7 separate regions of the Homo sapiens genome follow, and regions 2, 3, 4, 5, 6 and 7 are each linked to region 1. The links are contacts of gene promoters, found by promoter capture Hi-C in blood cells and fetal thymus (Javierre and others, 2016). All regions are on one chromosome and are shown on one strand. The core of a region is centred on a gene start or on the middle of the fragment in contact, and the rest is flanking DNA. Distances in the headings are between cores, read along the strand shown. Region 1 holds the start of NRP2 (neuropilin 2). Region 2 has its middle 190 kb from the start of PARD3B. Region 3 has its middle 260 kb from the start of PARD3B. Region 4 has its middle 250 kb from the start of PARD3B. Region 5 has its middle 170 kb from the start of PARD3B. Region 6 has its middle 280 kb from the start of ICOS. Region 7 has its middle 250 kb from the start of ICOS.

Region 1 (3,919 bases), core at 732-3,231:
CAGAGTTAGCTCTACCACTGCCGCCATCGCCTTGCAAGTGCCTTGGGTGAGGGCACTTCAGGAAGGCTTTTTCGCCTTTCTTTCACCCATTTCCTCCATAGATGGTTTCTCCATCTCCAATCACCTGTAGCAGCTGCTAAGAGTTTTGTTGTTAGATTCCAGACACTGTTCTCAGAGGGGTAGGGAGGCTCACTCTAGAGAGTGGTCCGAGAAGGAAGCACAAACCCCACTGCATTCCCCATGGATTCCCCTTTCCAGAGCATACCCCTTGCCGCTCCCCACAAATGCGGTCCCCAGACTGTTCTGGGCCTCGAAATGCTTATCTCCACAGCAGCCTGTCCACACACCCTTTTTGGCAGTGGTTGAGAACAAATTCCACTCAAAAGTTTCTAACCACTTCACAAGAGTGAGAGACCTTCGAGGGCCTGCAATTTGTTTTAGCTAATAATAATTTCTAAAAGAACGTACGATTTACTTTCCCAGACAACACATGGATGAAGAGAGAAGAGACCAACCGTCTTGGTTGCCAGCAGCACCCAACCCCAAGCCCCTATCTCAGCCACAAGCCAACTTGCTCCACCAGCCTGAGCCTTATGATTCTGAAGCATAACCAGTCATTCTCCAAAGAATCTACAGCATCTGAAAACCAAAACTAAACTCTTGTCTTTCCCAAGCCCTTCAGTTAACATTGCTCAATGTAGCTAAGTGGAGGGAATGCAAATGATTTATATTTCACTGGCTAGTTGGAGAAACTCAAGGGAGATGTGTTCTGCTTCAAGACAGGGAAAAAAAATTCCCAAAAACTGTAATGCAAAGGCTTTGTAGTATTTTTAAACCTTTGATTCAGTCCATATGTGACATATGAACACCGCCAAATTCTGTTTCAAAACACACTCACACACACACACACACACACACACACACACTCCTAGCAGGAGAGGAAAGTTGGGTTTTAGCAGCCGTGGTGGTGTAGGAAGGGCCGGCTGGGATCTCTCTTTAAATTATTGAGTACTGAGGGAGCCTTCTTCTGTGCCGTTCTGCGTGGCCTTCCTGCTTTAGCGGTCACTTTTAAAGGGGAAACCATGTTGCAATAAATAGAAAAACTTTCAGTGGCTTACCTGGTTGGCCTCTCACTTGGTGTCTTGAAAAGTAGAGGGCTAAGAAAACCCAGGTGAGAGGAAACATATCCATTTTGGAGAAGGTGGCTCTTTCCAGAGCTGGGTTCGTAGGTTTCTTGTTTAAATCTTTGTGTTTTTCTCTCTTTTATTTTCCTCCTTACAACGTCTTATGCAGAGGTTTCTAATGGTCAGCGTTTCCCTCCTGAGTCCTGGTGGCTTGTCTTCACCTCTATTCTTGCTGGAATTTCCACCTCACCAGGAGGAGAGTAGCTCCTGAAATCAGCAAAGAGGGAACAAGCCGGGAAGAGAACACGGTTTTCCTCTTAAAAACAAAACGCATATATGTTCTCTCCAGTTCCTCAAAGTGTCATTTCCTTTATCCTACAAATATCACGAGTATTTCCCGAAAGCCAAGCGTAACAATAATGATAATAATAATAATTAAAACCAAGACTTGCCTTGGGCATCACACGGCCCCCAGGCAGCTGTGTGATCTCAGAGGCGTAAACTGACACACATCCCGCGGCACCCTTGACGGACACACGGGCGGAGGCAGCCGCCGCCGGACAGCCCGAGTGGAAGGCGGCCGCCCTGCTCTTGTCCTCGCCGGGTTCCCCCGGCGGGAGCCTCCCCCAACGGCTACACCCGCTTGGCCAGCCTCTCGAGGGGAGTCTGAGGAAGGAAGCTGCTGCTGCTGTTGCTGCTGCTGGTGCGGCGGCGGTGGCGGCTGGGATCGCCTGGGAGTGAGCGAGCCCCTCTCCGAGTTCGCTGGCGCCCGCCCTCACCTCCACCTCGCCGAGTGTCTGTGCGGCTGAGGATGTGCTGGGGGCCGGCTGCAGGCTGGTGCCTCGCTCGCGATCTCTGCCTCCCCTCCGGCTCCCCACTGCCTTTTCAGGCCGAGCAGCATGTGGATGTCAGAGCCGCGGCAGAGCTATCCGATTACGCGCCGGCTCAGGGCCCGCCCCTTCTGTGTTCCTGATTAAAGAGGCAGCCGCGGAGACGCGCGGCGCAGAGCAGAGTGCCGCGGCACCCAGCTCGGGCGGGGCGGCGACGGCTTCTCTCGGGCCGCCGCAGGATCGAAGTTAAGGCGGCGCCCATCCCACCACCCCTCGCCCGCCCCGCATCTCCCGATCGCCCCCGCGCACCTCCGCGCCGGGCCGCCGGTGCGTAACGCCCTGGGGAAGAAGCGCCCCCGGGCACCCCCAGGGCGCGCCGCCTTGGCCGTGTCGCCCCCACCCAAGGGAGACCCCGGGGGGACGGGGGGAAAAGCCTTGTTCCCCCTAAATTCCACGACTCCGATGCCACACACGCAGAACCCAACACAATGCCACGCGCGATGGCGTTACAAGAGGAGTTGGGTGGCGTACGGTGTTTGGGGTAGCGAGCCGGTCGGCAGCTCAGCCATGCGTTCGAACAGGCAGCGGTGCGTGGCGGCGACACACACCGTCAGCCCGGTCTGAATAAAACCCCAAACACTCGCTGCGTTTACTACTCAGATCCTTTGTTATGTCCCAAACATGCTCTGCTCCTCTCTGGGTTAGGATTTCGTTACCCCTGCGCCTTTAACTGTAACTACCCTAAAAAGAGGAAAGACTTTCTTCAGCAAATAATTTCTTCAGGTAATTAAATTGGATTCCATCAAGTTCCCCCGAAAAAGTATAGGTGCTTGAAGGCGTCTCATCCAAATGCTACTGTAACTACGTCTATTCACATTTTCCCCCATGGAAACGTGGTCACAAAGCCTAGAGAAAGAAAACATCATTATGCCAACTATTTTTAAATGGAGGCGTGAAAACTGTTTAGAGGGAACTGCAAGCTAACAGTTGGGGAAACACTTGTATCTTTGTTTCTGAGGATGGCTTTGTGGATTCCAAACTGTCTTGCTTCACCAGACACCTATTACTACATTATCATAAAGACTGCAACAGAAACAGCCTAAATTACACCCTGCACATGTACACCTTTTCTGCCACAAAAGAGGTATATGAAAAATAAGAAAATTCAGAAAAATATTTACAGATTAAGATTTTTTTTAAATTAAGAAAGTAAAATTTTCTGTAGATTAAGAAAAATACAGTTTCGGTGACGAGAAACACACACCTGACTACCCATTTTCTTCTTGGCTTGTACTTGTGGATTCTTCTGGGTGGTTTCCCTCCTTATCTGGACTTGCCCATTAGCTTTATCACTTTTAGTGTTTGAAAAATCTGTAACTCCCACTTAACTGTTATTTACACTGAGATAACCAAAACAAAATTGAATCAGAAGTGATTTGCAAATAGTTGAGCCAAGCTGTGTTGGGGGGTGGCGCGGGATTTTAGAGTGGAAATCCACAGGCTGAGTATCACACTGTTAATCTCAGATGCCTGGTTGGGAAAGGCACAGCACAGAGGCCTCTGAGTTCTTCCAGGGAGCATGTCTCTTGGCTAGCCTAAATGCTACCTTTCATTCCCTCTTTGCCTCCCTCCTTCCTCTTCCTCCCTCCTTTCCTTCCTTCTTCCTTCCTTTCTAGGCTTGAGAGCACATCCACATTATTAAAAACTCCAGATTTACATTTCTCCTCTTTAAAGCTCAATTGTAAAGAATGACTCCAAGCCTTAAATATTTAACAAAGTAAAAGAGCAGTTTGGATTATTAACCTTAAGCAGAGATCCCGGTTTATGTCATTGCCAAGATGCTAATCTAAGGACAAAGAACGCTATCTGTAGTGACAGTCCCTGAATAGAGAGGGCCATTTAATATCACCTCTCCCCACCACTCACCAGGCATGCCAAACCATTTTTGCCAGTGCCCAATGTGGG
Region 2 (3,700 bases), core at 1,040-3,539, 1.3 Mb after region 1:
CTCTTGGCCTCAGTCGAGGGCTAAGGGGGCAAAGGTAGAGGCAATTGCTGAGAGAAGAGAGGTTTACATTTTTGTGCCTTCTACATTGCAAGGACAAAAGCCACGTGGCCTCTCATTACAAAGCTGGTTGATGTAGTTTCACTTGTTCTCTTACTTAATCATCCCAACTTCCCTAGGAAGTTTGTACTATTATATCCATTTTACAGATGAGGAAATGAGGATCAAAGAGATGAAAGGTTGAAGTGGTTTGCAGTTGCCATATAAGGTATAACAGAGAAGGAAAGGGAGTTTGAACTTTGATACTGTAACTCCAAGGGTGTCATTTTCTGGTAACTCACTGCTGTCTCTCTCTATTATTTTTTTCTTCTATTCATTAATGACTCCTATGTACCAAGTACTTTCACATAAATATTCTTATATATTTAATTCTCAGAAAAATCCTATGAAGTAGGTGTTACCATTTACATTAGTTTAGTAGGGCTACCATTTAAAAGTACCAAAAACTGAGTAGCTTAAACAACAGAAATTTATTTCTAAACAGAAACCTCACAGTCTGGAGACTCCAAGGTGTACAGGTCCAAGATCAAGGCATTGGCATGTCGTGCTCCCTCTGCAGGTGCAAGGAAAAGGTCTGTTCCTTCCAGATTTCTCTCCTCCTACCTTCTGGTCCTGCCTTCTGAGAGTTGCTTGACCTGTGGCAGTGTAACCCCACACTTCACATGGCGTTCTCCCTGCATGCGTGTCTGTCTTCAAATTTCGCTTTCTATAAGGACACCAGTCAGTTTGGGTTAGGGACCTACCCTACTCCAAAATGAAGAGTGTGAGTTAGATGAGTATGACTTCATCCTGACTTAAGTAATTGTATCTACAATGACCTTATTTCCAAATAAGATCACAATCTGAGGTCCTGGGGGTTAGGACTTCAGCATATAATTTTTAGGAAGGAAAATAATTCAACCATCTCAATTTTTCATAAAGCAAAACTGATTGATCTAAGGTTGCTGATCAAATAAATGTCAAGGCCAGGATCTGGAGTCAGCTTTTCTGACCAGGAGTCCACAATATTTTGCTCTTATACTTCCCCTCCCCCTAAATAAATATGGATGAGATCTGAACCAATCTGACTGAGGCATAAGCAAATGCCATGCAAATTGTACATTTGAAATGCAAATAAAATGCGATTCCAAAGATTATTTAATCCTAGGCCAGCCTATTTGGTGGACTTAAAAGGACATCAAAAGTCATCAGAGAACTCGATTTGGAGAATATAGGGCTTTTTTTACTAGGCAGGGGAAAAGATAATTGGAAGCTGGGAAGAGAATAAGTGGGGTCTATAGCCAATTGGAAGAGAATAAGCTGGCTCTTTAGCCAATTGATAGGTGCTGAAGAAGAGAAAATTGAGGAAGGTGCTAAGTGAGATGCAGAGAATGCATGCGTGAGGCCTGAGTATCCCCAGATTCACAATTCCCCTGTGAAATTCATGATGCATCTAGGATAGGGGGAAAGAAAAGCTGAATAATCCCAAGAGAGGCACCAATAGTGTGAGCTGGTTACTAGAGGTGATCCATGCCCTGGTCTGCCTGGGACTGAGAGGTTTCCCAGAAAGGGATTTTCAGTGCTAAAACTGACACAGCCTCAGGCAAAAAGACATGGTTGTCACCTACTAGTGAGTGAACTTTTGAAGTTTGATTAATTAGTAAGGAGATGGGGGTCTCCTGGTTTAAGCCTCACTCTAGTGTGTTAATAATTTGCCACAGGGATGCTTCAAACAAGAATGCTGTTAAGATACCACAGCTAATCAGTAGCTAGTTTTTACCCCCTAGAAACAGACCCTGCAGTTTTGTTACATTGCTTTTCCCTAGCTGAGCTGGAGGTGTTAGGAGATGGGGGAGCTCTTTAAACAGAAAAATCACAGACAGGCTTTGGGCCTTTGTTGGTAACTGAGAAATATACGCAAGGCTAAACACTCTGCATTGAAGGAACTTTCCATTTCACTCCCTTCTCTCTAGTCTCCACTCAGGTCCCTCGGGTAAACAGGTAATGAGAAGATAATTTTTCAGACATTTCTGATCAGAAACATCAATGAAGGCCCTTGGTAAAAATACAGGTTCAGACACTAATTTATTCAGAATCTCCAGGGAAGAGCCTCAGAAGTGTTTTTTTTTTTTTTTTTTTTTTTTTTTTGGAGATGGAGTCCCGCTCTTGTTGAAGTGCAATGGCACAATCTCAGCTCACTGCAACTTCTGCCTCCAGGGTTCAAGCAATCCTCTGCCTCAGCCTCCCGAGTAGCTGGGATTATAGGTGCCTGCCACCATGCCTAGCTAATTTTTGTATTTTTAGTAGAGACAGGGTTTCACCATCTTGGCCAGGCTGGTCTTGAACTCCTGATCTTGTGATCCACCCGCCTCGGCCTCCCAAAGTGCTGGGAGAAGTGGTATTTTTTTAAAGCAAATTCCCCAGGTGACTGTTGGAAGTGGTGAAGCCCTGGACACAGAGGACAGAAACCCTGTTGGTAGGAGACTATGCATCCTTCCTGGGAAAGCCTCCACGTCCATGTGTTCATATCAGGATACACACAGGAGACAGGAGCTGGAAGATACCCCCTTTCTGCATCACCTCCCCTGTGTCCATTTCCAGGGTGTGTGTGAGTGTATATATATATAAAATGTATATTATATATTATATATATTTTATATTATAGATAATGTATATTATATATTATGTATATTTTATATTATAGACAATGTATATTATATTATATATTTTTATATTATAGATAATGTATATTATATATTATATATTTATATATATTTATATTATATATATATATATTATATAGATATATATATATTTTTTTTTTTTTTCGAGACAGAGCCTCGCTCTGTCGCCCAGGCTGGAGTGCAGTGGTGCGATCTTGGTTCACTGCAAGATCGCAGCTCACTGCAAGCTCCACCTCCCGGGTTCACACCATTCTCCTGCCTCAGCCTCCCAAGTAGCTGGGACTACAGGCGCCTGCCACCACATCCGGCGAATTTTTTTTGTATTTTTAGTAGACAGGGTTTCACCGTGTTAGCCAGGATAGTCTCAATCTCCTGACCTCGTGATCCACCCGCCTCAGCCTCCCAAAGTGCTGGGATTACAGGCGTGAGTCACCGCGCCCAGCCTCCAGGGTACATTTTTTTGGTCTCAAAACAAGCACCAAGGAGAAGGGGTGAATAGGAGTTTTGTTTGTTTTCTTTTTTGTAATTTAGCTATGAGGGGGGTCTTTAACTCTCCATAGATCAGCTAGCAATGTTTTTGGCAACCAAAGAGAGCTTAGGAAGAAAATGGGGTGGTTTGATCTGGGGGTGCTAACAGGGCCTCAGCTCACAAGCCGGTTAGAGAGGCTTTATCTCTCTGTGTTGTGTTCACGTCTGGGAGGAAGAAAGGGAGGGTTCCAGATTGTTAACCAGCGGCAGCTGGCAGCTTTATTGTTTTTTAATTAAATAACCCTCAGCCACAGGAGCACACACCAATCCCCCACCTCCTCCTCCTCACGAAACCTCATTAAGCAAAAGGACTACAATTAAGCCCGGAATCCACGGTTGACACTCTCACCATCCGTCTGTTGCTTCTGCACAGGCTGTGGGCAAGACAAGCGGCTCTCTCCTCGTTTCATGGGCAGGGGGTGATAACAGGGAGAGGCCATCTTTATTTGTCA
Region 3 (4,008 bases), core at 475-2,974, 1.4 Mb after region 1:
CAGATCTGCCCTTAGAATCCTTAATTCCAGTTAAAACAAAAACTATCAATGCGAAATAAGTCACAGGAATTGTTCTAAAGCAAAGGCATCTGGGTGCTTTCGTGTTTTCCTTCCAGAAGATGTTGAATTAGGAAAAATTTAAGGTGATCTAGGAATTCCCTGAATGCTTTTGGTGGTGTGAACATATTGTGAAAAACAAGCTTCTATTAACGCATCAGCAGGACAAATATTGAGAAGGATAGAAAATGGGTTTCAGCAGCCTGAAGCTTTGAAGAAGAGCTAAGGAGAGTTCAATTTAACTTGTTTTTGGATACTGTCCTGGAGCTCACACTCTTCCTCCTTCTCGTGTGTCGTGTGGACATGCAGAAGACGAGGATATGATTTTTGTAACATGGAGCATTTTTAATCCCTTTCCTGTCACACTAAGTAAATAACTCACCGTGAAATACTCAGGAGATGACTCTAAACTGCAGTAGGATATGGAGCAATGTACAAAATTTTAGATGTGGACATTAATAAACCTAGCCAGAGAGTATGGTTTAATGGCTTGTCGTGGTACCAGAAACATGGGCGCCATTTAATGGAAGTTCTATCCTCATGCTTGGTTGTCTCTTAAATTGTAAACCCATGAATCCTCTGGAAGCAGCTGCCTGGGAGCAAACAGTACAATAAAACTCACCTTTCCTCAGCCTCAAAGGACTGCTGGCTTTCAGCAAAGCCCAGGTTAAGGAGGTGGGTCTCTTCCAGCCCACATCTCTTCTGTGATAACAGGACTCTGTTTTCTATTTTAGAGCAGCAGAACATGAGTCTTAGGAAGGTAAAGATGTCTGTCCAAGGTTACCCTGCAGGGCTAGTCAAGAATTATAGACCATGTTCTCACTCATAGGTGGGAATTGAACAATGAAAACACATGGACACAGGAAGGGGAACGTCACACACCGTGGCCTGTTGTCGGGTGGGGGAGGGGGGAGGGATAGCATTAGGAGGTATACCTAATGTTAAATGACGAGTTAATGGGTGTAGCACACCAACATGGCACACGTATACATATGTAACTAAACTGCACGTTGCACACATGTACCCTAAAACTTAAAGTATAAAAAAAAAAAGATTTATAGACCAGGAGTAGGACTAAAGCCTCCTGATTTTTATTTCAATATTTCAGTGTTTTGACCTCCTCCTTGGACATTACTTATGTATGGAACTCACATATACACAGAGATTTCTCAAAGACCTATATTTAAGGGTACTTAGCATAGCCCGGCTATTCACAGGTCCCTGCTAGAGCTACGGCAGCAAGGAATGAAAACAAAGGGAGAATTTAATGCCTATTGAAAGCTGACTCAGAGCATGTAAAGGTGAAAGTGTGTGGTCGGAAGGCTTAGCTGCCTGTTGAGTTCTGTTATTCAGTAACTCAAGGAGCCTGTTGTGAGCTGCTTTGGCGCTATTAACACATCTGGAGCTAGTGGCCATACACTGGGGACTTTTTAAAATGTAAAAGCAGCTTTGTAGGCAAACTTGTGTTAGAATGAAATACTTCTGAAGACCAAAGGCTAAGTTTATAGAGTGCACCTCTCTCTCCCTGACTCAGTTCTGGGGGGCTTTTGATGGAGCGTATGCTAAACCTATACACTTATTTGGAGGAGTAAAAATTGTCCTCCTGTCCTGGGTTGTGTTTACTTTCAACGTAACCCTTTGGATCTCTGAGCAGATCCAAAAATCAAACAAACTAACAAAACAGTCAACAGAGTGGAGACTCTTCTGATATTCTCCGTCTGCACCTAGACCTATTTCCCCACCTGCTCTAGGCCCCATGAGGGTGAGTCTGGATAGTGGGCTCCCTTTCCCGCTGGGTGTTGGGTTGGGTTTGGCCAGTGGAGGTCACTGTCAGGAGATGAGAGAGTAAGAAGAGATGGAGAATTGTTATTTATTCTCTATGTCATGACCAGTTTCATCATTATCATCTCTTTTCACCCTTTACCTCTCCAGATTTCTGGAAATAAATTCCAGAATAAGAGTTCATCCTGCCGATCCAGAGCCACAGTTTGGAGACGCTGTATTCCTAGATTGAAGGCCTGGCTCCTGGTGGACAGCCTTCTCTCTAAAGCTACTCTCTCCAGGTTCTGGCAACTGCAGCCAAAGGGCCAAAGGTAAATCATGAGGGAAGCCTGCGGTGAAAGTAAGGCAGCATAGAAATGAACCAGGAGCAATTAAATGAAATAATAAAATGACAGGTGTCTTCACTTGCTTTATAGTTGGTCTAAACATGGTATCTTGGTGGACCATTCTGAGATAAAGTTGGGACACAGTGTCTTGGAATCACAATCCACCATTTGTTCCCTTCCACCTGGCCTCTTTTTCCTCATTCCCCTCCAGGAATGCATGGGCATCAACGGTAAGGCTATTTACTAACCGAAATGCCAATGCATGCCATTTTCCCCAACAGGAACAAAAGGGATTGAAAGTCAGTCCAGAAAGGATAGACTGTTACTTTGGACTTTATTTCCAGAAATCTGCAGAGGTAACAGATGAAATGAGATGATGAAGCCAGCCATGTAGAAGGTCTCAGGACATGGAGGTGCAGTGAACTTACCATGAGAGGGTAAGTTCTGGAGAAGCTGGCCAATGCTTCCCAGGACTGGGGCAGATGCTAACTCTTGCTCTTTCTTCTCAGTAATGGTCTTGTTTTCCCCACGATTACCTTTGCACCGACATCCCAGTGTTTGGACATGGAGGCTAAGACATAGGCATCGTTTGCTGCTAGATCTGCCTCTAGCCAAGCAGAAGGTGACGAACAGTCACTTGGGTTCCCTGCTGAGGTTAGGGCCAAAGCCACAGCTGGCTGTGGTAGAGGATTCTTTGTCTGAAGAGAAGGTAGCTCTGGTAGGTGGACACGGCAGTAATAATATCATCATAGTAGCATAACCAGTTAATGAGATCTGCAATTGCCACAGTCAGTCTCAGCATGTTTCTGTCACCATCCAAGCGATCAAAACCTACCATAGAGCCCTAAACCCTCCTGTCTTCAACCATTTCCTTGGCCAGGAGTGGGGATTTGTTTGCCAAAAGTGATATCCTAAATACTGAATCTTGATGATCATTTCCACCCTCCCAACATCTGAGAAGGCTGGAATTTCTCTCAGTTGACTACAGGTTGTGTCTGACTTTGTGAAAGAAGCTTTGTCTCCAGGGGTCTCTTAATTGGGGTAAGAGAAACTGAAACACCTTCATTTATGTCATGCCAACCTTTCCAAGAGCCCAAAGCACATTAGGATTGTCGCCTTATTAATGTGCCTTACTGCAAAGCCCACAGAGCAGCACACACCTGCCTGGAAGGTGTAAGGCTTCAACTGAATGGTACATGCCACCGATACAGAGTCATTCACTGACACCCCCAGCCTGACCCCGCTTAGTTGCTGAGATCTGATGAGATCAGAGCAGAAGGTGACAAGGCTGTGAGCTTAATTAAAGGAATGGTTTTGTTCAATCCATGCTCATCCTTTCCCCCTTCACCCAGTAATTCTCAGACATGCCAAGAAAATCACAATGAGGAGGAGATTATGACCTAGTGATCTCATTCAGGATGTGACATTATCTCATTTCAACAGCCTGGGAAGAGCAATGCCATTTTCAACTCTGGGAGAAATTTGACCAGTGACAGAGCAAAATTTAGCCCAGACTTTTCACTTTCCTGTTTATCTCCAAGGTAAGGGGTCCCCAGCCAGCTGTATCAGGGAATCCAAACACCCTCCCAATCTCTAATACACAGCTTGCTGGCAATGAAGCCTCCCCAACCCCTTCTCTCCACAGATAAGTGGAATCCACATGTCCTAGAGGTGAGACATGTACACTCAAGGAAGGAGTAAAATATATAAAGTCTTCTCACTCCAGCATCTTTGCTTTTAAATTTCTTCCTAAAGAAGGAAGGATTTCTGCCATCTTCACAAAACAGTAGAGATTTCAACCTCTTAAACCTATTACTCAATATTAAAAGGATTTGGTGACTGA
Region 4 (4,230 bases), core at 1,146-3,645, 1.4 Mb after region 1:
AAAAAATTCATTTTTTTCTCAGAAGATACAGTTTTCTTTCATGAGAGGTAAAATTTTATTGCCAATTCCTCCCAATCCACTTTCCACTTTTAACGAAGAATTATATTTTTCCAGGAATGGGTAACTAAATACAAATGTGCATTCTTCACTGATGCAGTTAACTAGGACTCTGGAAAGCCCACAATCCAGGAATCATCAACTCTTTTCCTGGGCCTCCATTCTTGCAAACTAAAGCTCCACAGTGATGGTTTCTACCTTATTCATTTGGGCCTAAAGAACTTTAATGGAAGATGGAGTTTGCCTGGGGTCATCTTAAGAATTTGGTTAAGAACCTGCAAATAGATTTTCCAGGCCACTCTGGGAAACTACACACAACAACAAACCTGGTCTCTTCAAGGTCCTTTAGTTTGGGATCTGCCTAACATAAGCTCAAACTCCAAGGGCTAATCAACACTCAAATTGAGGGTAAGAAATGTTGAGAGTAAATGAAAAGGAATTTGCTTTGTTAAATGTTTCTCTAGACAGTGCCCCTATTCTTTTCCTAGTAGGACAGCAAAGTCCCATTGGGAAGGCTGGCTAGCTGTGAAATGACATACATGCAGAAGAACTGTCTTCCAGATATCCCTCAACAACTAATTTGTCTCCTGAAGCATGAAATTTAATTACCCATATTGGACATACTTGCATAATCACATATTTTTATTGCACAAAATTGTTCAGTCTTTTAAAGTGTAGGGACAGAATCCTGGTTATAGAAATGTCTTTGACATCGGAGATTTGCACAAGTAAACATTTTGTGTGAATAACTATTTTCCAGTGTGGATTCTCATTTGCCGCCTTTTGATATTGTTGAGCATTGACTTGCACTCATATTTTGCTGTTATGTTGACAAAGGGGGACTGATAAGTTTTTATTAAACCCTTGTAATATTAAGCCCTGCTATCAAATTCATCCTAAGCTTCTGCTAATCCTCTTCTTTGTTGCCTATCATAGTACGTAAATCGTCCTCCACCTCTAAGCAAGCTCATACCCTTCTCCAGCACTTTTCAATCTCACTCCCACTTCTCTTGAAACAAGGTGACCAGAAGTGAACATGAGACTCCCCACAAGGACAGAGGCATACCACCTCTTCAAGGGAAGCCGATTAACTGTGAAATAACCAGCAATATTTTTAGCACTCTTCTCACTTTTATAAAAGAGAGTGAGATGTCACATTTACTTGGCTAATGGCTATTGCTCCTAGGAAAAGCTGAAATTAGCCTAAAAATGGCTGATCATGACTATCGGGGCAGAGATAGGAGAATTACCCCACTAGGAAGCCATGGTGTCCATTTGAAGTCTGGTTTCTAAGGCTCTTTGTAGAAGACTAGCTGGACATAAGAGGAGAGACATATACAGGAGTTCAAGCATGGTGCTAGGGGGTGGGTATGTAGAGAAAAAAGCAAATGGTCCAGGGAATGGGAAAATAGGGGGGACATAAATTTCTAATATTTATGCAGAACCTAATATATGCCAGGGAATATTTGTAAATGCTAGTCATGAGCTAGCTCATAATCCTTCCAACAGCCTGAAAAGGTGGGAACCATTATCATAATCATTTTAGAGAGGAGATAGAACCTTGGAGAGATTTTCTGAAGCTCTCTAAGCCAGTAGTCTTAATTGTAATACTTTTCACATCATTAGGCCTTTTGTTTTCAATGCATTTTCTTACCTAATCCCCAAAGCAATTCTATGAAGAAAGTACTCCTTTTAGAGATAGAAACCAAGTCCCAGAGAGGTTAAATAACTTCCTCAAGCTCACACAGCTTGCCAGTGGCAGAGATGAGGTCCAAATCCAGTTCTGTGTGATGCACCAAGGCATGGAACTCCAAGAGTGCCATGTGGTGGCTGCTGTCCCAGCTCTCCCCTCCCTCCATCAGAGCCAGCATGAATTTTGGGACACTGCCTTGCCCAAGGAAGTATGTGAAGTCCTGAGGTGTCACTAGATTTTCCATCTTTCTCAGTTTTATTTTATTTATTTATTTATTTATTTTTTTTTTTTTTGCTTTCTGTCTTTGGACTTCTTTAGAGCTTAACTGGTTCATGCCTTTGGCATTTTAGTCACCACCCTGCATTCTTGGGAAGCTCAAATTTGCTTGTTAGTTCTTAGGAGAAGCTGAGTTTGTAAGCAATCACTAAGTCCAGCAATGGTATGCTGCCAACAATCAATAAAAAACAGAAAAGCCAGAAGGCAACTAGAATGTAATCATCTGCGGGTGGTGTAGGGACACTCCCATGCCACTCTCACCCATTTCTTGAGATTTCTAACTGGTTACCCTTCACATGGAAGTCACTGCATCCCATAAGTGTAGTAAACGTTGACCCTCAGATGTTAGGAAGTAGAGCGGGAAGTCTCCTTTGATAAGTGCTTACCACGTAAGGACACTGATTTGTGCAACTGTATGTAAGTTACTCACCATGACTTCCAAAGCCAATAATGAATAATCAATATTATGTCACGTTGTCCACATCGAGTGTATCACTGAGCCAGCAATGGAACCCAGGCCTATGTAAGTCCTAAACCTGTTCATTTCTAGAAACATGCTCCTGAATAAAACCAATGGCACAATCCATTGGCTACTTTTTCTACTTGGTCTTTTGGGGGCAGTTATCTGTGTAAATAGCAACTAGAAATTTGCTATTTCCATACTACCTTGAGGATCTGCCATAATGGGAAATGAGACAAGAACAAAAGCCCCATCAGTTACTAACTATTTCTTTAGATTTCTGCTGTCATGGAGAACACAGTTATTGGGCTTTGTTTGCTGTGGCTGCAACTAAATTTCCCAAACCTGCTAAGTGAAGTCGGTGTATGACTGGCGCAGTGACCAGCAGAACAAAAAGCTACAAATTATCTCTATAGAACATTAATCGAAGGTCTCTGTGCTATAGAATCCTTTTCTCAATTAGAAAGCTGTCGAGGGAGTAATGTTCTCTCTAAAAATCATGATATACACAGCTCTATAAATCGATGAAAGACTTGTGACCATTAAACTTAATTGATACTGAATTTAGAGGAATACGTTTCAATCATGTTGCCATTTTATTTGAAAATTAGTTTCTGGCATTACCTCTTTCCTTCCCTCGACACGCAGGGACACGCAGCCCTCCAAAGTGAGCTAACCAGGAACCAGGGAGACTCAGCTCTGACTGCGAAGCCCTCAGCACCGGGCAAACACACAGAAGATGTTTCAAGGTGCTGTAAACAAGTAGACATAAAACAGGAAATAAAAACTGATTTCAAGTAAAATCAGCAACAACTTGGTTTTATATAGTACCCCATATGTTCCACAGGAATAATACCCCATGGCACTTTATAGGGAAAAAGTTAAAAAAAAAAAAAAAAGGCTACTCCAAGGACTACACTAGGAAAATAATTAACTTCTTGAATATGTTCTCAGGCTTGAGTAGGTGCAATTCTTTCCCTGAGATTACTGTTGGCAATAGTGCTGAGGAGCTGTTGTTTTCTGTAATTGGCTCTGGATGGAAGCCATGCTGAAAGCAAAGAGCAAAGACAGCTTTGGGTTAGAATGTTTGGAGTGTGTGAGAGCATGTATGTGTGAGTATGTGTATGTGTGAGCATATGTGTGCGTGTGTGTTCATATGTGAATTGCAGGAAACCCTCCTCAAATGTGATCAATTTATCTAATCTAGAACCATCATTGAAGCACTGTGACAAAGTAATAAAAGAAATCCAGAATTGATTCTATCTAAAGAGCCCAAATGCACTTACCCTGTCACTGTTTTCTAAATGCAGTCATGGAAGAAAAAAAAACTGAAGAAAGAAGCTTTTTTTTTGAGACAGAGTTTCACTCTCGTTGCCCAGGCTGGAGTGCAATGGCACAAACTTGGCTCACCGCAACCTCTGCCTCCCAGGTTCAAGTGATTCTCCTGCCTCAGCCTCCCAAGTAGCTGGGATTACAGGCATGCTCCACCACGCCCGGCTAATTTTGTATTTTTAGTAGAGACGGTGTTTCTCCATGTTGGTCAGCTCGGTCTCGAACTCCTAACCTCAGGTGATCCACCTGCCTAGGTCTCCCAAAGTGCTGGGATTACAGGCGTAAGCCACCGTGCCCGGCCCAAAAGAAGCTTCTTTTTTAAAAAGAAAACAAGAAACTGACAGGAAATATGTTTTTCACATAAACCTTCCAGAAATATATTATATGTGTAGTAATTTTTTCCCGAATAGGC
Region 5 (4,256 bases), core at 1,131-3,630, 1.3 Mb after region 1:
TGTTCAGGAATTACAGCATCATGTTTAACAAAAAAATGAACAATGTGGGGTTCTTCAAACTGTAAACATCTTCAAAATCTTTGACAATGCTGTAGACTGACACTACTACCTGAAATTCTGGATATTTTATTATCAAATGATATAAAGTAACTATACCATGGCAGAACCCAACACCAACCATCTGGGTATAACAATCCTGTTTCAGATATTATATTAGATTTTATAATCAATCTTTTTGGCATTTCTTGATTGAAAACTAAAAGAAAGACTAGTCATTATAGGGTACTGCAGTTCTGGTCCCAGAGAAAAGTCTGAAGCAATGATTGTGTATATATTGCTGCAATTCATATTGCCCATATATTTGGAATCTGGCATTTGTCAGCTTAATAAAGCTTGAATGACAACCACAGCTGTGTCCATATTAACCAGTTTGCTAATATAAGCCTTAAGATGTTCAATTTGGACTCTGTGTCCCATTACTCTATGCTATTACCTTATGGTCAACATTATAGGGACAAGGGAAAGCTCTGTTAGTCATTGAAATGATTAATGATTTTCTGGTTATGAAATTGAAGTACAGATCAGAAATTACTTTCTCGAGCCCTTGGTCTGACATTTCTTCCTAATCACCAGTATATTAATCTGTTTAATGTTGCTAAAAAGGAAAACCTGAGGTGGGTCATGGTGGCTCATGCCTGTAATCCCAGCACTTTGGGAGGCCGAGGCAGGCAGATCACATGAGGTCAAAGGTTCAAGACCAGCCTGGTCAACATGGTGAAACCTTGTCTCTACTAAAAATTTTTTAAAAACTTAGCTGGGCATGGTGGCGCTGTAGTCCAGCCACTCGGGGAGGCTGAGGCAGGAGAATCGCTTGAACCCAGGAGGCAGAGTTTGCCGTGAGCCAAGATTGCACCACTGCACTCCAGCCTGGGCAACAGAGGGAGATTCCATCTAAAACAAAGAAACAGAAACCTGAGGCTGGGTAATTTATTTAAAAAAAAAAAAAAGTTTATTTGGCTCACAATTCTGATGTCTCGAAAAGTTCAAAAATATTGAGCATCTGCATTTGGTGACGACCATAGACTCATGGCAGAAGATGAAGGGGAGCCTGTGTGTGCAGAGATCAAATGGTGAGAGTGGATGCAAGGGAGAGCAAGAGCCGCGGGTTGGGGGTATGGGGGTGGGCTCTTTTTAACAACAAGCTCTTTCGGGAACTACTCACTACCCAGGGAGGGTATAATCTATTTCTGAGGGATTCACCTCCATGACCCAAACACCTTCCATGGGGCACCACCTCCAACATTCGGGATCAAACTTCAACATGAGGTTTCAGGGAACAAATATCCAAACTATAGCAATGAGAAAGAGCATAAAAAGTGAGAAGAGGTTCCTGTTTTCCCCAGACTCAGCGTTGTTTTGTATTCCTTCCCACTTTCCTGCCAGTATTATCACCTCCATATGGCTGCTCCTTCTTCCAGAAATCTACTTCATTATTGCCAATTTCTCACAGGCATGGAATTTTACCTCCCACCTACATAAAGCCCTCCTTTCTGACAGTGAAGCTGCTGTTTTTCATGGCCCCATCCTGGAAACCCCTTTGTATTAGTCTATTCTCATACTAAAGACATACCTGAGACTGGGTAATGTATAAAGAAAAAGAGGTTTAATGGACTCACAGTTCCACATGGCCGGGGAGGCCTCACAATCATGGCAGAAGGCAAAGGAGGAGCAAAGGCATGTCTTACATGGTGGCAGGCAAGACAGCATGTGCAGGGGAACTGCCCTTTATAAAACCATCAGATCTCATGAGACTTACTATCACAAGAACAGCACAGGAAAAACCCACTCCCATGATTCTGTTTCCTCCCACTGGGTCCCTCCCATGACACATGGGGATTATGAGAGCTACAATTCAAGGTAAGATTTGGGTGGGGACACAGCCAAACCATATCACCCAACATCGGGCCCTTTGCCCTTGCTGGTCCCTCTGCATGGGGTAATTTCCCTCTGGATAACCCAACACTTGCTTCCTCACTCTTTTAGGTTTTTGCTCAATGTCACTTTCTCAGTGAGGCCTTCTCTGAGCACCCTATTTAAAATTTCAGTTCCTAGCTCCACCCATAGAATTCCATATCACCTTTGTCTAATGTATCTGAATTACTGTGTATTTCATTTATTTATTTATTTATTTATTTTCTATGTCCTCCTCCCACTTAGATGCAAGTCCCATGGAGATGGGGTTTTTGTCTAGTTATTCACTATGCTATCTCTAGCACTTAGAATAGTGCCTGACTTATAGAATACACTTTGTGAAATCCATAACTAACTTGAGCTGATCTTGTGATTCTGCAATCACATTGGGGTCTCTGAAGGGTTGAAACATTATAGGGATATACTCAGAGGAGTGCTCAGGACCCAGGAACACAAAGTCAATGCTGGGTCAAGCCATTTGGGGTCAGATACGAGAGAAAAAGGCAGTAGCATTGGTCTTGTCTTTAACATTTTGATATTTTATTCACCATGTATTTTTTGCATAATTTTTATTTTTCAAAATATTGTGTTAAGATACCATTTATGTGACTACTGAGTTCTTTGTGCTGCCTTAAATTTTGTGCCTGAGGCAAGTGCCTCACTGGCCTCCCCTAGTCCTGACCCTGAAAGAGGGGCAAAGGGCCCTGGAATTGGTCACTAAATATGTGCTGAGATGGCCTGGAAGATCTGCTGCATCTCTTCCCAAGATGTTCTCAAAATGCTTCTGATTATACAATGTGTGAAAAAGGTTGATGCTTTAAGTGTAATCTTTTAAGGGGAAATCTGAGCACAATGCCAAAAGAGGGGTTTTCCAAGTGACAATAGAAAGTTTTGACAGACTATTAGTAGAGATGATGTTTGATGGGGATGATGATGATGATGTTGACAATGATGGCATTTAAAGTGCCAATGTATCTTATGAAGGAATTCAGATATTAAGTCAAAGCCTAAGGCAAAAATGACATTTTATTAGTTTTTCTCCTTGATATCTTAGAGAGTCATGCTGGAGACCAAACAAACCGCAATTCCGCATAAGCCTAACTTTAGTTGTTCTTCCTATATTAAAGCAGATTGGTGTTTCTTCATGTGTGCACCAGATGAAGTCTCTGGCTTCCATTTAAAGGACTTGATGTATAACAAACATATACTTTATAAAGACCTTCTAGGGGGCATAGAGATGCTCATGGTATGAGAGGCACGCAGAGGCTGACACTGACTGAGGGACCCACAAACTCATAGATCCCTTCTCATGCTTACTCCAAGTCACACACACAAATAAATGGATATTTATTTCTCTTTTTTCTTGTTCTGTTGAGGATGTATGTCAGGCTGAATTAGCCCAGGTTAAATGTGTTAAGATAGGTCTCTACTATCTTGAGTACTTGCTATGTGCAGACATTGTGCTATTTGCTTGTATGCATTACTATTTAGTTTTCATAACTGTATGACATAGGCACCCTTATTATGCTCCTTTAACAGATAAGAACACTGAGGATTGGAAAAGTCCATTGTTCTCAAGGTCACATAACTAATCTTGAATGGGGAATTCAAACAGAAATTCAAAGACCTTTCACTTCACCGCTCTACAACCCTGTCAACTTTTGCCTTCAGGTCTCTCCAGTCTAAAATATCAGAAAAACTTGACCTTAGCCTCATTGGCTGTCATGCCATGTCCTATCGGGTCTTACCTGCCTTTACTATACATATTATATAGAAAAAAACACCTGGCCTGGAGTATAGCTCACTAAAATTCTTCTCTTTGTTCTGCCACTGGTTTCATTTGTAATTTTAGGCAGGGTCCCCAGTTTCTTAAGGACTAAGTTAAGTCGATTGTAAAATAAAAGTTTTATATTAGATTATCTTTCATATAATCTTTTTAGCTCAGGTTTTCCATTATTCCATTTCCTGATTTAATGCATCTGTAGTTGCCACAAAACTCTTAATTGGAAAAGTCATATGGCAACATTTCATTGAACAGTTGCCACCACTTTTAAACCATTGCTCCAAAGCCAAAGTAAGATTTAAAAGTGAGGTAGGGAACAATTATAGAAGAAAGAGAATTTCAGTGAAGGGGATGCATTCAGCCTCAAAGACACTCTTTGTGAGTATGTGTGCTCCAAAAGCCAAGAATATCTATGCCACTCCTTTGATACAAAGGCAGAAGATATTTTGAGAGAAGAGAGCTCTTTTATAAATATATTGCTCTGCGGGACTCCCACTGCTCC
Region 6 (4,262 bases), core at 771-3,270, 1.5 Mb after region 1:
AGGGTATGGGGATACCATGATTAACACACATAAACAATGCTAACTTTGTGGAGGTATGTTCTAGTAAAACACTGGCAAACAAATCTAGAAAATAAGATAAGTAAGAAACTAGGCTGGGCGTGCTTGGCGTGGTTGTTCACATCTGTAATCCTAGCACTTTGGGAGGCCGAGGCAGGAGGATCACTTGAGCTCAGGAGTTTGAGACCAGCCTGGGCAACATAGGGAGACCTCAAGTCTACAAAAAAAAATTTTTTCATTAGCCAGGCATGGTGGCACGCCCCTATAGCCCCAGCTACGCAGGAGGCTAAGGTGGAGGAGTCACCTGGGCCTGGGAGGTAGACTCTGCAGTGAACCATGATTGCACCACTGAACTCCAACCAGGGCGACAGAGCAGAACCCTGCCCCAAAAATAAAAAAAGAAAGAAAGAAACTACGGTTGACCCTTGAACAATGTGAGTGGTAGTGGTGCTGACCCCCTGTGCAGTCAAAAATCCATATATAACTTTTTACTCCCTAAAAACCTAACTACTAATAGCCTATGGTTGACCAGAAGCCTTACAGATAACATAAACAGTTGATTAACACGTCTTTTGTGGGTTATATGTATTATATACTGTATTCTTAAAATAAGCTAAAGAAAAGAAAATGTTATCAAGAAAATCATAAGGAAGAGAAAATATATTTACTGTTCATTAAGTGGAAGTGGATAATCATAGAGGTCTTGGGCATCATTGTCCTCGTTATGTTAAATAGGCTGAGTTGGAGGAGAAGGAAGAGGAAGGACTGGTCTTGCTGTCTCAGGATGACAGAGGCAAAGAAGATGGAGGAGGTAGAAGGTGAGGCAAGAAAGATTTATTGAAAAAAATATGTGTGTAAATGGACCATGCAGTACAAATTTGTGTTGTTCAAGGGCCAACTGCATATACTATATTAGAGAGAGAGACATAATAAGGGAATTAAAACAGAAAGTTTTCTGTTGTCGGGGGTGGAGTTGTAATTTTACATATGGTGGAAATGAAAGTCTGCTTTATGAATCTAACTTTTGAACAAACACCTGAAAAAGGAAGACTAGCTATGAAACTATCTAGGGGAAGAGAATTCTAGGCAGAGGGAACAGTAAGGAAAAAAGGTCTGAGGTATGAGCCTGCCTGGTCACCTGGTATTTTTAAAGAAAAATCAGGAGATCAGTATGGCTGGAGTGGAGTGGCCAAAGGAGAGAATTACAGAATATAATTTAGACAGAAAACAAGGTCCAAATCATGCATGGTGGCGTAGGTCATTATTAGAACTGAGAAGCCTCAGAAGGGTTTTGAGTATTCGAAACGTGAAGAACTATAGTGATTTCCAAGTAAAGCTATGGGCAATGTCACACGCTAATACTCTGATTCAAATCAAGTGCTATGGTCTGAATGTTTGTGTCCCTCAAAATGCATACATTCACATTCTAGCCTCCAAGTTGATGGTATTAGGAAGTGGTGCCACTGGGAGGTAATTAGGTCATGAGGGCAGAGTCCTCATAAAAGGCATTAGTGCCCTTATAAAAGAGTCCTGAGAGGGATCCCTCACTTCCACTGTGTGAGGACACAGAGAGAAGGTGCTGTCTATGAAACAGGAAGAGGACCCTCATGGGATGCTAAATCCGCTAACACATTGATCTTGGACTCCACAGTCTCCAGAACTCTAAGAAATAAGTGTTTGTTTTTTATAAGCTGCCTATGCCACCTTACTATGACAGCATGAAAGGACTAAAACATCAAGTTACTTACTTTTCTGATTAGAGTGTGATGATGTATAGAAAAGTTGTTTTAAAATCACAAATATAAAAGTTTCTTAAGAAGATTGAGATTAATCTTCTCTATTAATCTTAACAGATTTTTGTGTCCCATTTCTATTTGAGTCTGAAAGCAACCCTACTATAAGCCGCAAGTTTCTTTTCATTGTTGTTAAGTTTAGATTGGTCAAACTGTCAGAATTCAAGCTAGTCAATCTCAGATATAAAATGAAAACTATGGGATGCACTGTAAACATTCATAAGGTATTTATGGTACTGTTTCTTTACTTTCAAGAACATGCCTTAGTTTCCAATTATAAACAAATGAATTGAGTAATAACAGAGTAGCTCAATCAAACTAACTCTCTTACAAAAAAAAAGCTGTAAGATCTGGAAAACTATTATTACACACACATAGACACATGCAAACACACAATTATTTAAGGGCTCAGAAGAGTGATTAAAAGTAAGCAGAAACTGCAGGGAGGGTTTACTTTGAAAGGGAAACCATGGACTGGGTGTGGTGGCTCATACCTGTAATCCCAGCACTTTGGGAGGCCGAGGCGGGGATCACCTGAGGTCAGGAGTTCAAGACCAGCCTGGCCAACTGGTGAAACCCCATCTCTACTAAATATACAAAAATTAGCTGGTCGTGGTGGTGGGTGCCTGTAATCCTAGCTACTCAGGAGGCTGAGGCAGGAGAATCACTTGAACCTGGGAGGCAGAGGTTGCAGTGAGCCGAGATCGTGCCATTGCAGTCCAGCCTGGGTGAAAAGAGCGAAACTCTATCAAAAAGAAAGGAAGAGAGAAAGAGAGGAAGGAAGGAAGGAAGATAGGAAGGAAGGAAGGAAGGAAGGAAGGAAGGAAGGAAGGAAGGAAGGAAGGAAGGGAGGGAGGGAGGGAGGGAGGGGGGAAAGAGAGAGAGAAAGGAAGAAAGAAAGAAAAAGAAAGAAGAAAAAGAAAGAAAAGAAAGGAAGAAAGAAGGAAAGAAAGAGAAAGAAAGAAAAAGAAAGAAAGAAAGAGAAAGAGGAAAGAGGAACGATGAAAGATAAAATTTGCAAGTTTATGGTATTTAGTCTGAAAGTATTGCCTATTCCACAAGAGGCTCAAGTGACAGAAAGCCACAGCTTTACAGGATAAATTAAAAATAAATAAATAAACAAGGATACATCATAGTCAAACTGCTGAAAAAACAAACAAACAAAGATAAAGAGACAATCTTGAAAGCAGGCAATGAAAAATGAGATACTCCATACAGGAGAACAATGATAAGAATAACTTCTGACTTGTCTAGAGAAACAGTGGGGGGTAGAAGACAATGGTACAGTATCTTTAAAGTGCTGAAAGGGAAAAACTGTTAACCCAGAAGTTTTCACCCAGTGAAAATACCTGCCAAAATTGAAAGCTAAAATAAAACATTTTAACATGAACAAAAACTCAGTGCATTTGTTGCCAGCAGGCTTGCACTACAAAATATGCTGAAAAGAGTTCTTTTGGCTAAAGAAAATGGTATGCTTGAGTCTACATGAAAAAATAAGGATTTCTAGAAATAGAAAATATGTGGATACATCTTAAAGACTTCTGTGCATACATACATACACACACATATGTAATATAGTCAATTCTTGTTATTTACAGTAATTATGTTCTATAAAGTAGCTGTGAACATGAAATTAGTGAACACTGAATTATTGCTCCTAGGGGAAATACAGGATTAGGCTCCTGAAATCTTCTGGTCATAACATTTTCATCAACTGATCAATACTTGATCTTGTGTGTTTCTGTTTGAAGACAAGTTATTTCATATATATTGTTGATTCATTAATATTGAACTCATGGCCAACAGCAGTATAACTCCTGCTTGAAAGAAATTTATCTATCTCACTATTTTCTCACAGCCTTCTTGTGCAAAGCCTATTACTCAGCACTTCACCTCACACTTGGGGGACGTTTTAAATGGCAAAATCACTAACAAAAAGCACACAAATGCAATGTGGCACTAAATAGACTATGAAAAATACACTTATTTATAATGTCTATATAAGGGAGGGCTGAATTAAGAACGCATGGCTGGGCGTGGTGGCACATGCCTGTAATCCCAGCACTTTGGGAGGCCAAGGTGGGTGGATCACAAGGTCAGGAGTTCGAGACCAGCCTGGCCAAGATGGTGAAACCCCGTCTCTACTAAAAATATAAAAATTAGCTGGGCGTGGTGGCAGGCGCCTATAATCCCAGTTACTTGGGAGGCTGAGGCAGGAGAATCACTTGAAACAGGGAGGCGGAGGTTGCAGTGAGCCGAGATCGTGCCACTGCACGCTAGCCTGGGTGACAGAGCAAGACTCCATCTCAAAAAATAAAAAAAAAGGCACAGCATTTCCTGGTTTGACCTCAGCTGGGAATATATGCATCAGGTGAATTTTTTGTCTCTCTACACCTGTCTGCGAATTACCATGAGAAAGCTATTGTATTGATTTTGGGATTGTAAAAAAAA
Region 7 (3,728 bases), core at 1,187-3,686, 1.5 Mb after region 1:
GGGTGTAGGCACAAGAAACAAGTCAGAAAGACCTTGCTGGTAAAACAGTTTGCAGTAAAGAAGCTGGCCAAAACCCAGCAAAACCAAAATGGCGTCGAGAGTGACCTCTAGTTGTCCTTACTGCTCATTATATGCTAATTATAATTCATAAGTATGCTAAGTGACACTCCCACCAGCACCATGAGAGATATGGTCTAAAGGGGGAGGAACCCTTAGTTCTGGGAATTGCCCACCCCTTTCCTGGAAAACTCATGAATAATCCACCCCTTTTCAGCATCTACTCAAGAAATAACTATTAAAATGGGCAACCAGCAGCCCTTGGGGCTGCTCTGCCTTATCAACTTGCTTTCACTTTACTCTATGGACTTGCCTCGAATTCTTTCTTGCACAAGATCCAAGAACCTTCTCTCAGGGTCTGGATCGGGACCCCTTTCCAGTAACAGTAACTACTGTTATTGTTTGGTTGTTCTAAGCAGACATGTTTCATCATATAGCACAACAGGCCAATGCCGCAAACTGAAACAGAAAGAAACTACTGGCATATTTTTGACAAGAGAAAACATTTCCTTATATAAAAACATAATTTTGTTTAAGTCCAGACATTATGACCTTTTGAAATGCATTATTGACAATCTACTTAACACACAAATTTAATTTCTGATCTCCAGACATGATAGAAAGGAAGGCATGCTCATTTCAATTGTAAAGATTTTAGGCATAGTATTCAAATAATTCAATCAGTTAGAAAAATAGAAATGCTTCCTGAATAAGAAAGATCTTAAAAAAAGTGTTTTTTAAAGCAATGAATATACTAATATATAAACAATATTTCCGTTTGTTAAATATCTATGAAGGCCAAACTAGGCAATGACTGAGTTGGCTATTCTCCTCTGATGAAGATGGGCCTCTTCATGCAGTCCTTGGCTGGCTTTTCCACTTCTGTCCCTCTGTTCTTGGAAAGGAATCATAGGTCTTCTCTGTCTGGTCCTGAAGCTGAAGTTGGTGGCTGCTGTCCCTTTTCAGTTCTCTCACTCTTTGCTCAGAGAGGTGAAGGCTCATTGTGGGATGGCACTGGGGGTGATGCTAGGCTATCCAAAGGCCTCCTTTCTGCTTTTACTATGCATGCTCTCACTTCTTTGCAGTGCCCACCTTCTTGGGCTGGCCTTCCTTTTGACTATGGTACAGAGAGACGCCTTTGCCCTCTTCTGTGGCTCATATGGGTCTAGGTATGAAGTTTCTATGGGCTGGTTTTGTGATTCTTCATGCTCAAGTCTTGCTTGAGAACTCTCCCCCAAACGACCACCTCCACACCCACTACCACTATTCATAACATTATGGTAAATCTTGAGCCTCTGGAGTCAGAACAGAGCGAACAACTCTGTGAGGTTTGCTGCACAGTGGAGTTCTCTTAAGTCAGTAGATCTGAAAAGTATTTACTTGACTATTAACCCTGAATGGAATTCCTCGGATAAGTTATCACTTGTCCACTAGGCAGCTTCTTCATTACCTTAACATTATCACCAGTATTAATACACATCAAAAGCCTATAATCAATGTACCATTGACCCACCAATTCTATGTCTAGGGATTTATTTTTGTAACAGCAAAACAGCAAAAAACTAACATAAGTAACTCCATTTTGTTTAAAGGGCCTTTACCCATTCCTGCACATAGGCTAGGAGAATTTGAGAGTACTGAAATAAAATGCAAAAATGGCAATCATGTAATTTTTGAAACTAACTGAGATTAAAGAGGATGTATGTAAATAACTACGTTTTGTTAAAGATTTACAGGAGCACTATGACCTGACCAAGGGCAAAGAAGTTCCCAACCTCCTTGGACCTTCGCTGACACCCAGATATGTCTGTGGTCAGCGGTCACCTCTTGATACCAAACCCCTCCTCTTCCCTATATCCCCCCTAGCATAAAAACCCTCCAGTCAGCCTGCAAAACTTAACATGGTGCTTCAGAAGACTAGTTCACCATCGTCTCAGTTTTGCTGGTTTTCTGAACAAAACCTCCTTTTCCTCCCGCCAATTCTCATGTCTTGTGTTTGGCTTTCAAGTGGTGAGCAGCTGAACCTGGGCTCAGTTACATTCTAAGAAAATAGTCGAGAATGTTGTCCAAGATTTCATTTAGATGGAAGTTAAAGACAATCATGAAGAGTTTTGTAACAACATTGGAAATAAAAGTCTGCCTTTTTAATTAAAGTATGTTCATTTAACATAATTAATATTTAATAAATTTAACATAACGGAATTAAATTACAGTCCAAACAAATTAATGGATCACTTTCAAGTTTTTCAATATTGTAGGATAAAATTTTATGGCATGAAAGATGTTTGTTAAGTCTAAAACAAGGCTATAAAATAGTATGAGCTTAAAAAGCAAGTCACAGAAGACTGTATATATTTTGATATAAATATATCAAAAAATATATATATTGGCCAGGCACAGTGGCTCATGTCTGTAATCCCAGCACTTTGGGAGGCTGAGGCAGACAGATCATGAAGTCAAGAGATGGAGACCATCCTGGCTAACACAGTGAAACCCCATTTCTACTAAAAACACAAAATGTTAGCCAGGTGTGGTGGCACGTGCCTGTAGTCCCAGTTATTTGAGAGGCTGAGGCAGGAGAATCGCTTGAACCCGGGAGACAGAGGTTGCAGTGAGCCGAGATCGCACCACTGCACACCAGCATGGGCTACAGAGTGAGACTCCGTCTCAAAAAAGAAAAAAATGTATATCAAAATATTCTTGATATTTATTTTGATATTTATTTTATTATTGCTTTTAGATATATATCTTTTATTTCTTTTGAGATATATATCTTTTTTCTTTTGAGATAAACATATATATATATGAGATATACATATATATATCTTTCTTTATTATCTCAAAAGGAATAATAAACATGAAGTTCCCATACATAAAATAGCAGTTCTCTCCTTTGGGAGAAAGTCTAGGATAGTAGAGGGGACAGAGGCAAGTGCAATGATCTTGGTAATGCTTCTGTTCTGAAATTGGTTGATAGGTCAATTTTTAAAAATTTTGCCGTATAACTTGCATTTAAACTACATGCATTGTTTTATATGTATCAGATACTACATTATAAAATGCTAAAAATGCAGGGGGAGTATATCCTCATTTCAGGGCCATTGCATGCAGTTGTCCCAGTTATCCCCTGACGGAGGCATCCAGATGGATGCCTTGGCAAGAGAATATTTCAGGTCAGAGGAAAGGGAGTTCTTTCTCTAATTTGCATAAAAAGTACTCTCTACTTGCCAAATCTGCCCAGAGTGGTCATCTTTTGCTGATCTGATCCCCAAAGGGAGTCGCCTTTTTCTATTTTGCACACAGGTGCTGTATGTTCTGGCAGGGACACGCCTAGATGTATGTGTGGGTATACACATGTGCAACTGTGTGTGTATATAATATGTCATTACCACTGAATGGTGGGATTCTGACTTCAAAAATTTTGCTTACTCATATTTTCTTCATTTTCATTTACCATATACTACTTTTATATGAAAAAAATTAAATAGATGTTTTCAGGTAAGGTGTTTCCTTTCTCAAAAGGCAACTAATCCTAAAAATATGTGTTAAAATATGACACAAATCCACTAGACAATTTCACCTCTTGGTTTCAACTTTGCTGTCTTCCTCCCTGCCCCAATCCTACTGCTGACAGAACTCCCTCATCATTGCGTTTACCCTGTTCCCCTCAG

Evidence for each region. The method cuts DNA at HindIII sites, captures the fragments that hold promoters and counts their contacts. A CHiCAGO score of 5 or more calls a contact.
Region 2: a fragment that was not itself captured here is called in contact with the fragment with the promoter of NRP2 in region 1 in 4 of 17 cell types (total CD4 T cells, total CD8 T cells, neutrophils and 1 more); the score reaches 10.1 in total CD4 T cells.
Region 3: a fragment that was not itself captured here is called in contact with the fragment with the promoter of NRP2 in region 1 in 5 of 17 cell types (M0 macrophages, M2 macrophages, M1 macrophages and 2 more); the score reaches 11.4 in M0 macrophages.
Region 4: a fragment that was not itself captured here is called in contact with the fragment with the promoter of NRP2 in region 1 in 6 of 17 cell types (M2 macrophages, M1 macrophages, non-activated CD4 T cells and 3 more); the score reaches 9.6 in M2 macrophages.
Region 5: a contact is called between a fragment that was not itself captured here and the fragment with the promoter of NRP2 in region 1, in 1 of 17 cell types (non-activated CD4 T cells). The highest score is 7.6, in non-activated CD4 T cells.
Region 6: a fragment that was not itself captured here is called in contact with the fragment with the promoter of NRP2 in region 1 in 1 of 17 cell types (M2 macrophages); the score reaches 5.6 in M2 macrophages.
Region 7: a fragment that was not itself captured here is called in contact with the fragment with the promoter of NRP2 in region 1 in 2 of 17 cell types (M2 macrophages and M0 macrophages); the score reaches 5.7 in M2 macrophages.

The regions. Positions count from the first base shown.
Region 1 is chr2:205,680,563-205,684,481 of GRCh38, reverse strand. NRP2 (neuropilin 2) reads right to left here and starts at 1,981. Exons shown (of 17, transcript NM_003872.3): 1 at 1,119-1,981. The coding sequence starts at 1,191. RefSeq lists a silencer at 2,461-2,580. The HindIII fragment of the contact is 6,030 bases long and covers 1-3,919 here.
Region 2 is chr2:204,357,332-204,361,031 of GRCh38, reverse strand. No RefSeq gene overlaps it. Among named protein-coding and RNA genes, the nearest start is that of PARD3B, 190 kb to the left of the region's middle. The HindIII fragment of the contact is 6,416 bases long and covers 1-3,700 here.
Region 3 is chr2:204,280,102-204,284,109 of GRCh38, reverse strand. No RefSeq gene overlaps it. Among named protein-coding and RNA genes, the nearest start is that of PARD3B, 260 kb to the left of the region's middle. RefSeq lists an enhancer at 1,014-1,791. The HindIII fragment of the contact is 2,912 bases long and covers 269-3,180 here.
Region 4 is chr2:204,297,874-204,302,103 of GRCh38, reverse strand. No RefSeq gene overlaps it. Among named protein-coding and RNA genes, the nearest start is that of PARD3B, 250 kb to the left of the region's middle. The HindIII fragment of the contact is 2,869 bases long and covers 961-3,829 here.
Region 5 is chr2:204,375,377-204,379,632 of GRCh38, reverse strand. It overlaps the pseudogene LOC100132669. Among named protein-coding and RNA genes, the nearest start is that of PARD3B, 170 kb to the left of the region's middle. The HindIII fragment of the contact is 3,971 bases long and covers 395-4,256 here.
Region 6 is chr2:204,212,559-204,216,820 of GRCh38, reverse strand. No RefSeq gene overlaps it. Among named protein-coding and RNA genes, the nearest start is that of ICOS, 280 kb to the right of the region's middle. The HindIII fragment of the contact is 9,112 bases long and covers 1-4,262 here.
Region 7 is chr2:204,183,910-204,187,637 of GRCh38, reverse strand. No RefSeq gene overlaps it. Among named protein-coding and RNA genes, the nearest start is that of ICOS, 250 kb to the right of the region's middle. The HindIII fragment of the contact is 7,295 bases long and covers 1-3,728 here.